Regions from separate parts of the Homo sapiens genome. Here region 1 is linked to region 2. The links are contacts of gene promoters, found by promoter capture Hi-C in blood cells and fetal thymus (Javierre and others, 2016). All regions are on one chromosome and are shown on one strand. The core of a region is centred on a gene start or on the middle of the fragment in contact, and the rest is flanking DNA. Distances in the headings are between cores, read along the strand shown. Region 1 holds the start of LRRC37A3 (leucine rich repeat containing 37 member A3). Region 2 holds the start of STH (saitohin).

Evidence for each region. Contacts are between HindIII fragments. The CHiCAGO score rates a contact against its expected background, and 5 or more counts as called.
Region 1: a contact is called between a fragment that was not itself captured here and the fragment with the promoter of STH in region 2, in 17 of 17 cell types (total CD4 T cells, endothelial precursors, M2 macrophages and 14 more). The highest score is 121.2, in total CD4 T cells.

What each region holds. Positions count from the first base shown.
Region 1 is chr17:64,917,566-64,923,140 of GRCh38, forward strand. It overlaps LRRC37A3 (leucine rich repeat containing 37 member A3), which reads right to left and starts at 1,913. Exons shown (of 15, transcript NM_199340.5): 1 at 1,866-1,913; 2 at 1,185-1,305. RefSeq lists silencers at 1,263-1,642, 1,713-1,802, 1,903-2,122 and enhancers at 1,738-2,238, 2,314-2,815, 2,816-3,315. The HindIII fragment of the contact is 2,201 bases long and covers 3,222-5,422 here.
Region 2 is chr17:45,994,244-46,000,499 of GRCh38, forward strand. It overlaps STH (saitohin), which reads left to right and starts at 5,007. Exons shown (of 1, transcript NM_001007532.3): 1 at 5,007-5,451. The coding sequence starts at 5,037. The coding sequence ends at 5,423. MAPT (microtubule associated protein tau) reads left to right here. Exons shown (of 13, transcript NM_001377265.1): 9 at 2,156-2,421. The HindIII fragment of the contact is 3,833 bases long and covers 4,032-6,256 here.

The DNA of each region.
Region 1 (5,575 bases), core at 3,072-5,571, about 19 Mb after region 2:
AGGACTGCTACTCAGCAATAAAGAAACTACTGATACAACAACACAGATGAATCTTAAATACATTATGCACTGTACACGTATAAACTAAAAAATTAAAATACCTATTTAAAAGTCAAACAGGCCGGGCGCGATGGCTCACACCTGTAATCCCGGCACTATGGGAGGCCGAGGCCGGCGGATTACCTGAGGTCAGGAGTTCAAGACCAGCCTGGCCAACATGGTGAAACCCTGTCTCTACTGAAAATACCAAAAATTCGCCAGGCGTAGTGGCGGGCGCCTGTAATCCCAGCCACTCAGGAGGCTGAGACAGGAGAATCGCTTGAACCTGGGAAGCGGAGGTTGTGGTGAGCTGAGATCGCGCCACTGCACTCCACCCTGGGCAACAAGAGCGAAACTCTGTCTCAAAACTAAATAAATAAAGTCAAACAGTACATGAAAAAATAATATGATCAAGAGAGGTTCACTGCAAGAATGTAAGGGTGAATCAATATAAGATCTACTAATATAATTCTATGAATATACACTACTGTAATTAATATGTAGCATGCAGGAGGAAAACTATATGATCATCTTAAAAGATGCTAAGATGTCATTTAACAAAATATAATAGCCATATCTGATTTAAAAAAAAAAAACTTAAACAGAAAAAAAATTGAAATAGGTGAATATACTCAACACATTAAAGGTCTCAAACCAACAGTTAACCATTAAATATCTGCAACAGTTCCATTAAATTGGGATAGCATACTAAGATGCCTATCATTATAACTAACATTTGACATTGTTTTGGAGGAGGTGGTAGGGAATGCAATTTTTTTCTTTTTTCTTTATTACCCAGGTTCCCATCAATGGTAAAGGCAATGTAATTTGAAGAGAAAAAGGAGACATAAATATAAGAAAATCAGATGTGTACATGATTCATGTTTGCAGATGACAAAACTTTATTCCTAGAATAAAGTTATTCCAATCAAAGCAAAAGCTACAAGAAACAATTAGAAAAAAGAATAGGTGGCTGAATTCAAAATTAATTTTTTAAATTAATGAGTTTTCAACTAGAAGCCCCCTAGCAGAGCAGGTATTTTCATAGACAAATTAAAGATTAAATAAGATATCATGGCATAAGTGAAAATATTTAACAAATAAATTATACTTCATCCAATTTTGTAAAAAATACATACATATACCTGTGCCAGGTGCAGTGGCTCACGCCTATAATCCCAACACTTTGGGAAGCTGAGGCGGGCGGATCGCCTGAGCTCAGGAGTTCGACACCAGCCTGGGCAACACGGTGAAACTCCATCTCTACTAAAAAATACAAAAAATTAGCTGGGTGTGGCAGCGAGCACCTGTAGTGACTACACCACTTTGTTGACGGCCGTCCGGACCTGCAGCTGTCCGGGCCAGGTGGCTGCCCCCGCCTCCCCCCGGCCGGGGCGCTGGTGCTGGGGTGGGGCTGGCGGCGGCGGCGGCTTTCTCCGGCTACTGCTGCCCCCCCTGGGCGAGCTCAGCCGCGTCTTGGGCGCCACCTCAGCCTGGGCGGCGGCCCACCTGCCCCGGCTGCTGCCGCGGTGCCGCGAGCGGAACCCCGGATGGGTCCGGACGTGGGCGGCGGCGGCGGCGGCGGGGCCGGGGCGCAGCGCTCCGCAGAGGGAGCCGCGGGCTGCTTGGTCGGCCTGCCCCGCCGGCCCCTCATGTTGGAACCGAGGCGGAGGGAGAAGGGAAAGCGGCCGGGAAGGGGCGGGCGCAATGGGCGCAGTGGGGGCGGCCGGGGCCGGGTGGGGAGGCCAGAGGGGCAGGGCAGGAGGGGCCCGGCCTGCGGAAGCGGTTGGAGGGAGAAGGCTCAATCCGAATGGCTGGGGCCTCACTGCGGATCGCCTTCAGCCGCCATCTTGTTTCTTCCGTTACCGGAGCGCGGTCACGTGAGCTGAGCAGCCTACGAGCCTGGGACGGGGCGAGGTGGCGCGGCGGCCGCTAGGGGGAGCGCGGGAGCATTGAGTCGGGGGCGGAGAGCCTGGGGCGCCGGGGCTGGGCGCAGCGCGGCGCGGCTGGACTCCGGGCGCGGTGGCGCCGTTGAGAGAGACGCGCAGCTCGCGAAATGCCCCGCGGCTAAGGCCTTCGGAGACCATAGTCTCCGCGGACCCCTGGCTGGAGCCCAAAGCCGGCCGGACCTCCTCCCTGCGTCTCCCCTTCCGCGGCTCGGAGAGGAAGGCAGGAGAGCCCCCAAATATTCCCCTCCCGCCCCCTAGGGAAACTGAAGCTGAAAGAGCCAGCGAAAGAAAAAAAAAGTCTCGGAGTGGGGCGGCCCGAGCGACCTAAGGGACGGGGCAGCGCCAGCGACCGAGGGAAATTAGTCGGGGTGGGGGAACAGGGAGACAAGCCCCCAGAATTTAGGAAACTCCTAAATTCTACTAAAAATACAAAAATTACCTGGGCATGGTGGCGGGTGCCTGTAATCCTAGCTACTGAGGAGGCTGAGGCAGAAGAATCGCTTGAACCCCTGAGGTGGAGGTTGCAGTGAGCCAAGATTGCGCCATTGTACTCCAGCCTGGGCTGCAAGAGTGAGACTCCTTCTCAAAAAATAAAATAAAATAAATCAAGAAAAGTCTGGAAACCATGCCAACTGGTGAAATGAATAAAGAAATAAATGTTGTCTGGACTGAGTGGCTCACACCTCTAATCCCAGTACTTTGGAGGCCGAGGCGGGCAGATCACTTGAGGCCAGGAGTTCAAACCAGTCTGGGCAACATGGTGAAACCCTGTCTTTTCTACAATTGCAAACAAATTAGCCGGACGTGGTGGTGCATGCCTGTAATCCCAGCTACTCGGGATGCTGAGGCCCGAGAATCGCTTGAACCTGGGAGGCAGAGGTTGCAATGAACTAAGATAACGCCACTGCACTCCAGCCTGGGTGACAGAATGAGACTAGGTCTCAAAAAAAAAATTATAATTCAGTAACATAGTCAGTTACAAGATAAACATTGAGCCTGCCTCCTAGGTTCAAGCGATTCTCATGACTCAGCCTCCCGAGTTGCTGAGATTACAGGCGTGTGCCACCATGCCTGGATAATTTTTTGTACTTTTAGTGCAGACGGTGTTTCACCATGTTGGTCAGGCTGGCCTCCAACTCCTGACCTCAAGTAATCCACCCACCTCAGTCTTCCAAAGTGCTGGGATTACAAGCGTGAGCCACTGTGCCCGGCCTCAATTTGGGTTTTTATGGAAGCTTCATTACAGAGTCATTAATGATTACACCGTTGGCCGTTGGTGGTCAGCTTAACCTTCAGCCTCTCTCTCTTTCTCAGAGGTTGAGAGTGGCACTGAAAGCCCTGACCACCAGCCCCAATCCTGAGGCTGTCTAGGAAAGCCTAATCAGTCAATCATTAGCATAAAAAAAAGACTTATTTTGCAGATTCTGAGGGTTTTAGGAATTGTATGCCAGGAACCAGGAAGATCAAATACGTGTTTCACAGTCTCACAGGACCACATAGAGGAGATTGGTCATCAGTGTTTCTCAACAGAAGCGCTTTGGCCTTTTGGACAAGCCAGTTTACACACTGTAGGAAGAAGTTTAGCATCTCTGGGCCCGGATACCAAAGGCTAGTACCAGCCTCATCATTTTTACAACCAAAAAGGTAACCTTGCCCGCTCCCCATACATTCCCACTAGGAGGTGTCAGAACCACTTCCGGCTGAGAACCACTGGAATACATTTTGGAATATCCAAAAAATGTACTTCCATTTTAAGAAAATAATGTGGGATTGGTGTTTTTCATTTTTTAATTATTTGGAGGAAATTGCCAATGACAAGTGCTTGAACAAAAAATCCAAATTACAGACTAGTGTATATATAGTGTGATGTATCCATTCAATTCACTCAGGAAATGTTTATTTAACACTTAAGGTGTGCCATGCACTGTTTCCATTCCACATTCTGTACAGAGTGGGAAAATATTTGTAGTTTATATCCTTTATATGTAAATAAATAGGTCAGTTGCACTTCAAAGCCAACAAATAAAAGTGATCTCTAAATCTAAACCCCAAAGACAATCATTTTTAAACAACTTTAGAATATATCTTGTATATATTGTTTTAATGCATGTGTTCATATATAAACACATTTTATACAAAAACAATCTAATGAGGAAGAAAAATTATACTTTGGGAAAGAAGGAGCCGGGTGCAATGGTTCACGTCTGTAATCCCAGCACTTTGGGAGGCCAAGGGAGGTGAATCACATGGCGCCAGGAGTTCAAGACCAGCCTGGCTGACATAGTGAAACCCCATCTCTACAAAAATACAAACATTAGCTGGGCGTGGTGGCGCACACCTGTAGTCCTGGCTACTCCGGAGACTCAGGCAAGAGAATCGCTTGAACCTAAAAGGCAGAGGTTGCAGTGAGGCGAGATCGCGCCACCACATTCCAGCCTGGGCGACAGAGTGAGACTCTGTCTCAAAAACAAAAACACATTATTGCTAAGGTAATTTGCTTTTGAGTTCAAGACCAGCCTGACCAACATGAGGAAACTCCGTCTCTGCTAAAGTTTCAAATATGTATAAGTACTGGCATATTTTAAAAATACATTTTATTTTCTTTTTAGTTTATAAGATATGTGATTCCTTCTTTACATCTACCTATTTTTATTTCTGCCTCTTTTTTTAAATAGGGTTAATTTTTTTTTTTTAAATGGAGTCTTGCTCTGTTGCCCAGGCTGGAGGGCGTAGGGCTGCCTCTGCTCACTGCAATCTCCGCTTCCCGGGTTGGAGCAATTCTCCTGCCTCAGCCTCCTGAGTATCTGGCATTACAGGCACCTGCCACCATGCCCAGCTTTTTTTGTATTTTTAGTAGAGACGGGGTTTCACCATGTTAGCCAAGCTGGTCTTGAACTCCTGACCTCAAGTGATCCTCCCTCCTCAGCCGCTCAAAGTGCTGGGATTACAGGTGTGAGCCACCATGCCCGGCCTGTCAAATTGCTCTATAATTTCATTTGGAGTGAATTCAGATTAGACCATTGATTTTATTGGCTTTTTTTTTTTTTTGCTTTTTGAGAAGCAGGGCCTTATTCTTTTTCCTAGGCTGCAGTGCAGTGGTGCAATCACACCCCATCGCAGCCTCCCCCTACCCAGATCAGTAAGTCCTTCCGCCTCAGGCTCCCAAGTAGCTGGGACTACAGGCGCGTGCCCTGCCACCATCTCTGGCTAATTTTGGGGTGTTTTTTGTTGTTATTGTTGTTGTCATTGTTTTTTTGTAGAGACAAGGTTTTGCCATGTTGCCCAGGCTGGTCTCAAACTCCTGGGCTCAAGCAAGTGATCTTCCTTCCTTGACTTCCCAAAGTGCTGGGATTATAGGCATGAGCCACCGTATGGGCCCTGGTTATCTTTTTTTCATATTACACATTTTCATTTTCAAACATTTGAATTTTGCAAGCTTATTTTGAGTGAGAGGAGTGTTGTTTTCTTCTCTCCTGAAGCCCAGTGTAGCCCAGTCAACCCTTAACTTCCAGCAGGGAGCCAGCGCTTATCACTGCCTCACACACAGCATGTTAGCCTCCCTTATCCCCGAGAAACTCATACTGTTA
Region 2 (6,256 bases), core at 3,757-6,256:
CTATGTTTCAGATGAAGACATAGGCTTAAGGAGGTCAGGTGACTTGCCCACGACCACTCTGTAAATAAGAGGCATGAAAAGTATTTGGAGCCACCACCACCAAGCCCACTGGTCACCCTGGGTCTCTGAAGTCAGGGAGGCAGGAGGATGGGAGGTCTGAGGAGGCAGAGAGGCTGAGCCTGGAGGCCCTGGAGGCCGAGGCCCCATCTGTTGTTTCCTTATGTGGAAAATAAGAGGCTTCGTTTGTCCTATTGCCACAGAGCGTACTACTTCAGGAACATCCAAGACATGGAAATCCGCAGGGCACGGTGGCTCACGTCTATAATCCCGGCACTTTGGGAGGTTGAGGTGGGAGAATCGCTTGAGGCCAGAAGTTCAAGACCAGCCTGAGCAACATAGTCAGACCCCGTCTCTATAAAAAACATTATTTTTAAAAAAGACATGGAAGTCAAATTCTAAAAACTGGTGCTGGCTGGGTGCGGTGGCTCATGCCTATAATCCCAGCACTTTGGGAGGCCGAGGCGGGTGGATCACCTGAGGTCAGGAGTTCAAGACCAGCCTGGCCAACATGGTAAAACCTCTACTAAAGAAATCTTTACTGAAAATACAAAAATCCAGTCTCTACTAAAATAAGTCTCTACTAAAAATACAAAAATTAGCCAGGCGTGGTGCTGCACACCTGTAATATCAGCTACTCGGGAGGCTGAGGCAGGAGACTCGCTTGATCCCATGCAGCGGAGGTTGCAGTGAGCCGAGATCACGCCATTGCACTCCAGCCTGGGCATCAGAATAAGACTCCGTCTCAAAAAAAAAACCACAAAAAAACAAAACAACAACAAAAGAAAACTAGTGCTTATTCGTCACTGGCCAAGCTGCCCATTGGCTACATGGGTGCTTCAAAGAGCTGCCCTTCTCCAGGTCTGGCCAGCAGGTATGTGTTACAGCAAATGCCTGGGGCAGCGGCAGGGGCATTGCTGCGGGAAGCTTCTGGACTTGCAGGAAAGCTAAGTTCTCAGACTGCAGGGGAGCTAAGCACACCTCGGCACAGGGTGAGGCCTGCGGTTCTCAGACTTCAGTCTTTGTGGAGCTTGAGAAAAATGAGGCTTTGCAGGTCCCACCCCTAGAGATTCTGCTCTATCCACTCTTGAAGGGGATCGAGAAATTTGCATTTTGCAACTCCCACTTTCCTCCTTGAAAGCTCCGGAGATTCTGACGCAGGGTTCCGTGGGCCACACTTTGGAAAATACAGACCCATGAGATAGAATACCAGACTGTTGAAGTGTAACGGGGGCCTGGGAAGTGCAGTAACAGAAGCAAGTTTGAGGGTAAAGGACACCCAGAGGAGGGAGGGACAGCATCTGCATGGAGAGGAGAAGAGACCCCCCAGCAGCTTCCAGGGTGTTGGAAGGGTGCGCTAGTAACTGCTATGCATGGCAGGTGGGGAACTGTACGTCAGGGCACAGCAGCATGAAGCGGTATGGCTCGTGTGGACAGCTAGGGACAGGCAGGCGTGGAGCAGGCATCCTGTTCTGAAGGCCAAATCCCACAGAGGAGCCAGGGTGCTGGCAGGAGCCCTGAACTAGCCGAACAGCTGAACAGCTGAACATTCACCCTGTGGGGAAAGGGTCAGAAGCGTCCAGGCTTGAGGGCACAGCTGGGTCTCGTCACTGCATCACCCTTATTTAGGATAAAGGCCCTGAAGAATTGTATTAGAGGTTGGCAAAGCATATCTACCACCTCCTGGAGCCACGCTGGCCGCAGGGATTATAATTATTTCCATTTTCAAATTAAGGCCTCTGAGCTCAGAGAGGGGAAGTTACTTGTCTGAGGCCACACAGCTTGTTGGAGCCCATCTCTTGACCCAAAGACTGTGGAGCCGAGTTGGCCACCTCTCTGGGAGCGGGTATTGGATGGTGGTTGATGGTTTTCCATTGCTTTCCTGGGAAAGGGGTGTCTCTGTCCCTAAGCAAAAAGGCAGGGAGGAAGAGATGCTTCCCCAGGGCAGCCGTCTGCTGTAGCTGCGCTTCCAACCTGGCTTCCACCTGCCTAACCCAGTGGTGAGCCTGGGAATGGACCCACGGGACAGGCAGCCCCCAGGGCCTTTTCTGACCCCACCCACTCGAGTCCTGGCTTCACTCCCTTCCTTCCTTCCCAGGTGAACCTCCAAAATCAGGGGATCGCAGCGGCTACAGCAGCCCCGGCTCCCCAGGCACTCCCGGCAGCCGCTCCCGCACCCCGTCCCTTCCAACCCCACCCACCCGGGAGCCCAAGAAGGTGGCAGTGGTCCGTACTCCACCCAAGTCGCCGTCTTCCGCCAAGAGCCGCCTGCAGACAGCCCCCGTGCCCATGCCAGACCTGAAGAATGTCAAGTCCAAGATCGGCTCCACTGAGAACCTGAAGCACCAGCCGGGAGGCGGGAAGGTGAGAGTGGCTGGCTGCGCGTGGAGGTGTGGGGGGCTGCGCCTGGAGGGGTAGGGCTGTGCCTGGAAGGGTAGGGCTGCGCCTGGAGGTGCGCGGTTGAGCGTGGAGTCGTGGGACTGTGCATGGAGGTGTGGGGCTCCCCGCACCTGAGCACCCCCGCATAACACCCCAGTCCCCTCTGGACCCTCTTCAAGGAAGTTCAGTTCTTTATTGGGCTCTCCACTACACTGTGAGTGCCCTCCTCAGGCGAGAGAACGTTCTGGCTCTTCTCTTGCCCCTTCAGCCCCTGTTAATCGGACAGAGATGGCAGGGCTGTGTCTCCACGGCCGGAGGCTCTCATAGTCAGGGCACCCACAGCGGTTCCCCACCTGCCTTCTGGGCAGAATACACTGCCACCCATAGGTCAGCATCTCCACTCGTGGGCCATCTGCTTAGGTTGGGTTCCTCTGGATTCTGGGGAGATTGGGGGTTCTGTTTTGATCAGCTGATTCTTCTGGGAGCAAGTGGGTGCTCGCGAGCTCTCCAGCTTCCTAAAGGTGGAGAAGCACAGACTTCGGGGGCCTGGCCTGGATCCCTTTCCCCATTCCTGTCCCTGTGCCCCTCGTCTGGGTGCGTTAGGGCTGACATACAAAGCACCACAGTGAAAGAACAGCAGTATGCCTCCTCACTAGCCAGGTGTGGGCGGGTGGGTTTCTTCCAAGGCCTCTCTGTGGCCGTGGGTAGCCACCTCTGTCCTGCACCGCTGCAGTCTTCCCTCTGTGTGTGCTCCTGGTAGCTCTGCGCATGCTCATCTTCTTATAAGAACACCATGGCAGCTGGGCGTAGTGGCTCACGCCTATAATCCCAGCACTTTGGGAGGCTGAGGCAGGCAGATCACGAGGTCAGGAGTTCGAGACCAACCTGACCAACAGGGTGAAACCTCGTCTCTACTAAAAATACAAAAATACCTGGGCGTGGTGGTGGTGCGCGCCTATAATCCCAGCTACTCAGGAGGCTGAGGCAGGAGAATCGCTTGAACCCAGGAGGCAGAGGTTGCAGTGAGCCGAGATAGTGCCACTGCACTCCAGTTTGAGCAACAGAGCGAGACTCTGTCTCAAAACAAAATAAAACAAACCAAAAAAACCCACCATGGCTTAGGGCCCAGCCTGATGACCTCATTTTTCACTTAGTCACCTCTCTAAAGGCCCTGTCTCCAAATAGAGTCACATTCTAAGGTACGGGGGTGTTGGGGAGGGGGGTTAGGGCTTCAACATGTGAATTTGCGGGGACCACAATTCAGCCCAGGACCCCGCTCCCGCCACCCAGCACTGGGGAGCTGGGGAAGGGTGAAGAGGAGGCTGGGGGTGAGAAGGACCACAGCTCACTCTGAGGCTGCAGATGTGCTGGGCCTTCTGGGCACTGGGCCTCGGGGAGCTAGGGGGCTTTCTGGAACCCTGGGCCTGCGTGTCAGCTTGCCTCCCCCACGCAGGCGCTCTCCACACCATTGAAGTTCTTATCACTTGGGTCTGAGCCTGGGGCATTTGGACGGAGGGTGGCCACCAGTGCACATGGGCACCTTGCCTCAAACCCTGCCACCTCCCCCCACCCAGGATCCCCCCTGCCCCCGAACAAGCTTGTGAGTGCAGTGTCACATCCCATCGGGATGGAAATGGACGGTCGGGTTAAAAGGGACGCATGTGTAGACCCTGCCTCTGTGCATCAGGCCTCTTTTGAGAGTCCCTGCGTGCCAGGCGGTGCACAGAGGTGGAGAAGACTCGGCTGTGCCCCAGAGCACCTCCTCTCATCGAGGAAAGGACAGACAGTGGCTCCCCTGTGGCTGTGGGGACAAGGGCAGAGCTCCCTGGAACACAGGAGGGAGGGAAGGAAGAGAACATCTCAGAATCTCCCTCCTGATGGCAAACGATCCGGGTTAAATTAAGGTCCGGCCTTTTCCTGCTCAGGCATGTGGAGCTTGTAGTGGAAGAGGCTCTCTGGACCCTCATCCACCACAGTGGCCTGGTTAGAGACCTTGGGGAAATAACTCACAGGTGACCCAGGGCCTCTGTCCTGTACCGCAGCTGAGGGAAACTGTCCTGCGCTTCCACTGGGGACAATGCGCTCCCTCGTCTCCAGACTTTCCAGTCCTCATTCGGTTCTCGAAAGTCGCCTCCAGAAGCCCCATCTTGGGACCACCGTGACTTTCATTCTCCAGGGTGCCTGGCCTTGGTGCTGCCCAAGACCCCAGAGGGGCCCTCACTGGCCTTTCCTGCCTTTTCTCCCATTGCCCACCCATGCACCCCCATCCTGCTCCAGCACCCAGACTGCCATCCAGGATCTCCTCAAGTCACATAACAAGCAGCACCCACAAGGTGCTCCCTTCCCCCTAGCCTGAATCTGCTGCTCCCCGTCTGGGGTTCCCCGCCCATGCACCTCTGGGGGCCCCTGGGTTCTGCCATACCCTGCCCTGTGTCCCATGGTGGGGAATGTCCTTCTCTCCTTATCTCTTCCCTTCCCTTAAATCCAAGTTCAGTTGCCATCTCCTCCAGGAAGTCTTCCTGGATTCCCCTCTCTCTTCTTAAAGCCCCTGTAAACTCTGACCACACTGAGCATGTGTCTGCTGCTCCCTAGTCTGGGCCATGAGTGAGGGTGGAGGCCAAGTCTCATGCATTTTTGCAGCCCCCACAAGACTGTGCAGGTGGCCGGCCCTCATTGAATGCGGGGTTAATTTAACTCAGCCTCTGTGTGAGTGGATGATTCAGGTTGCCAGAGACAGAACCCTCAGCTTAGCATGGGAAGTAGCTTCCCTGTTGACCCTGAGTTCATCTGAGGTTGGCTTGGAAGGTGTGGGCACCATTTGGCCCAGTTCTTACAGCTCTGAAGAGAGCAGCAGGAATGGGGCTGAGCAGGGAAGACAACTTTCCATTGAAGGCCCCTTTCAGGGCCAGAACTGTCCCTCCCACCCTGCAGCTGCCCTGCCTCTGCCCATGAGGGGTGAGAGTCAGGCGACCTCATGCCAAGTGTAGAAAGGGGCAGATGGGAGCCCCAGGTTATGACGTCACCATGCTGGGTGGAGGCAGCACGTCCAAATCTACTAAAGGGTTAAAGGAGAAAGGGTGACTTGACTTTTCTTGAGATATTTTGGGGGACGAAGTGTGGAAAAGTGGCAGAGGACACAGTCACAGCCTCCCTTAAATGCCAGGAAAGCCTAGAAAAATTGTCTGAAACTAAACCTCAGCCATAACAAAGACCAACACATGAATCTCCAGGAAAAAAGAAAAAGAAAAATGTCATACAGGGTCCATGCACAAGAGCCTTTAAAATGACCCGCTGAAGGGTGTCAGGCCTCCTCCTCCTGGACTGGCCTGAAGGCTCCACGAGCTTTTGCTGAGACCTTTGGGTCCCTGTGGCCTCATGTAGTACCCAGTATGCAGTAAGTGCTCAATAAATGTTTGGCTACAAAAGAGGCAAAGCTGGCGGAGTCTGAAGAATCCCTCAACCGTGCCGGAACAGATGCTAACACCAAAGGGAAAAGAGCAGGAGCCAAGTCACGTTTGGGAACCTGCAGAGGCTGAAAACTGCCGCAGATTGCTGCAAATCATTGGGGGAAAAACGGAAAACGTCTGTTTTCCCCTTTGTGCTTTTCTCTGTTTTCTTCTTTGTGCTTTTCTCTGTTTTCAGGATTTGCTACAGTGAACATAGATTGCTTTGGGGCCCCAAATGGAATTATTTTGAAAGGAAAATGCAGATAATCAGGTGGCCGCACTGGAGCACCAGCTGGGTAGGGGTAGAGATTGCAGGCAAGGAGGAGGAGCTGGGTGGGGTGCCAGGCAGGAAGAGCCCGTAGGCCCCGCCGATC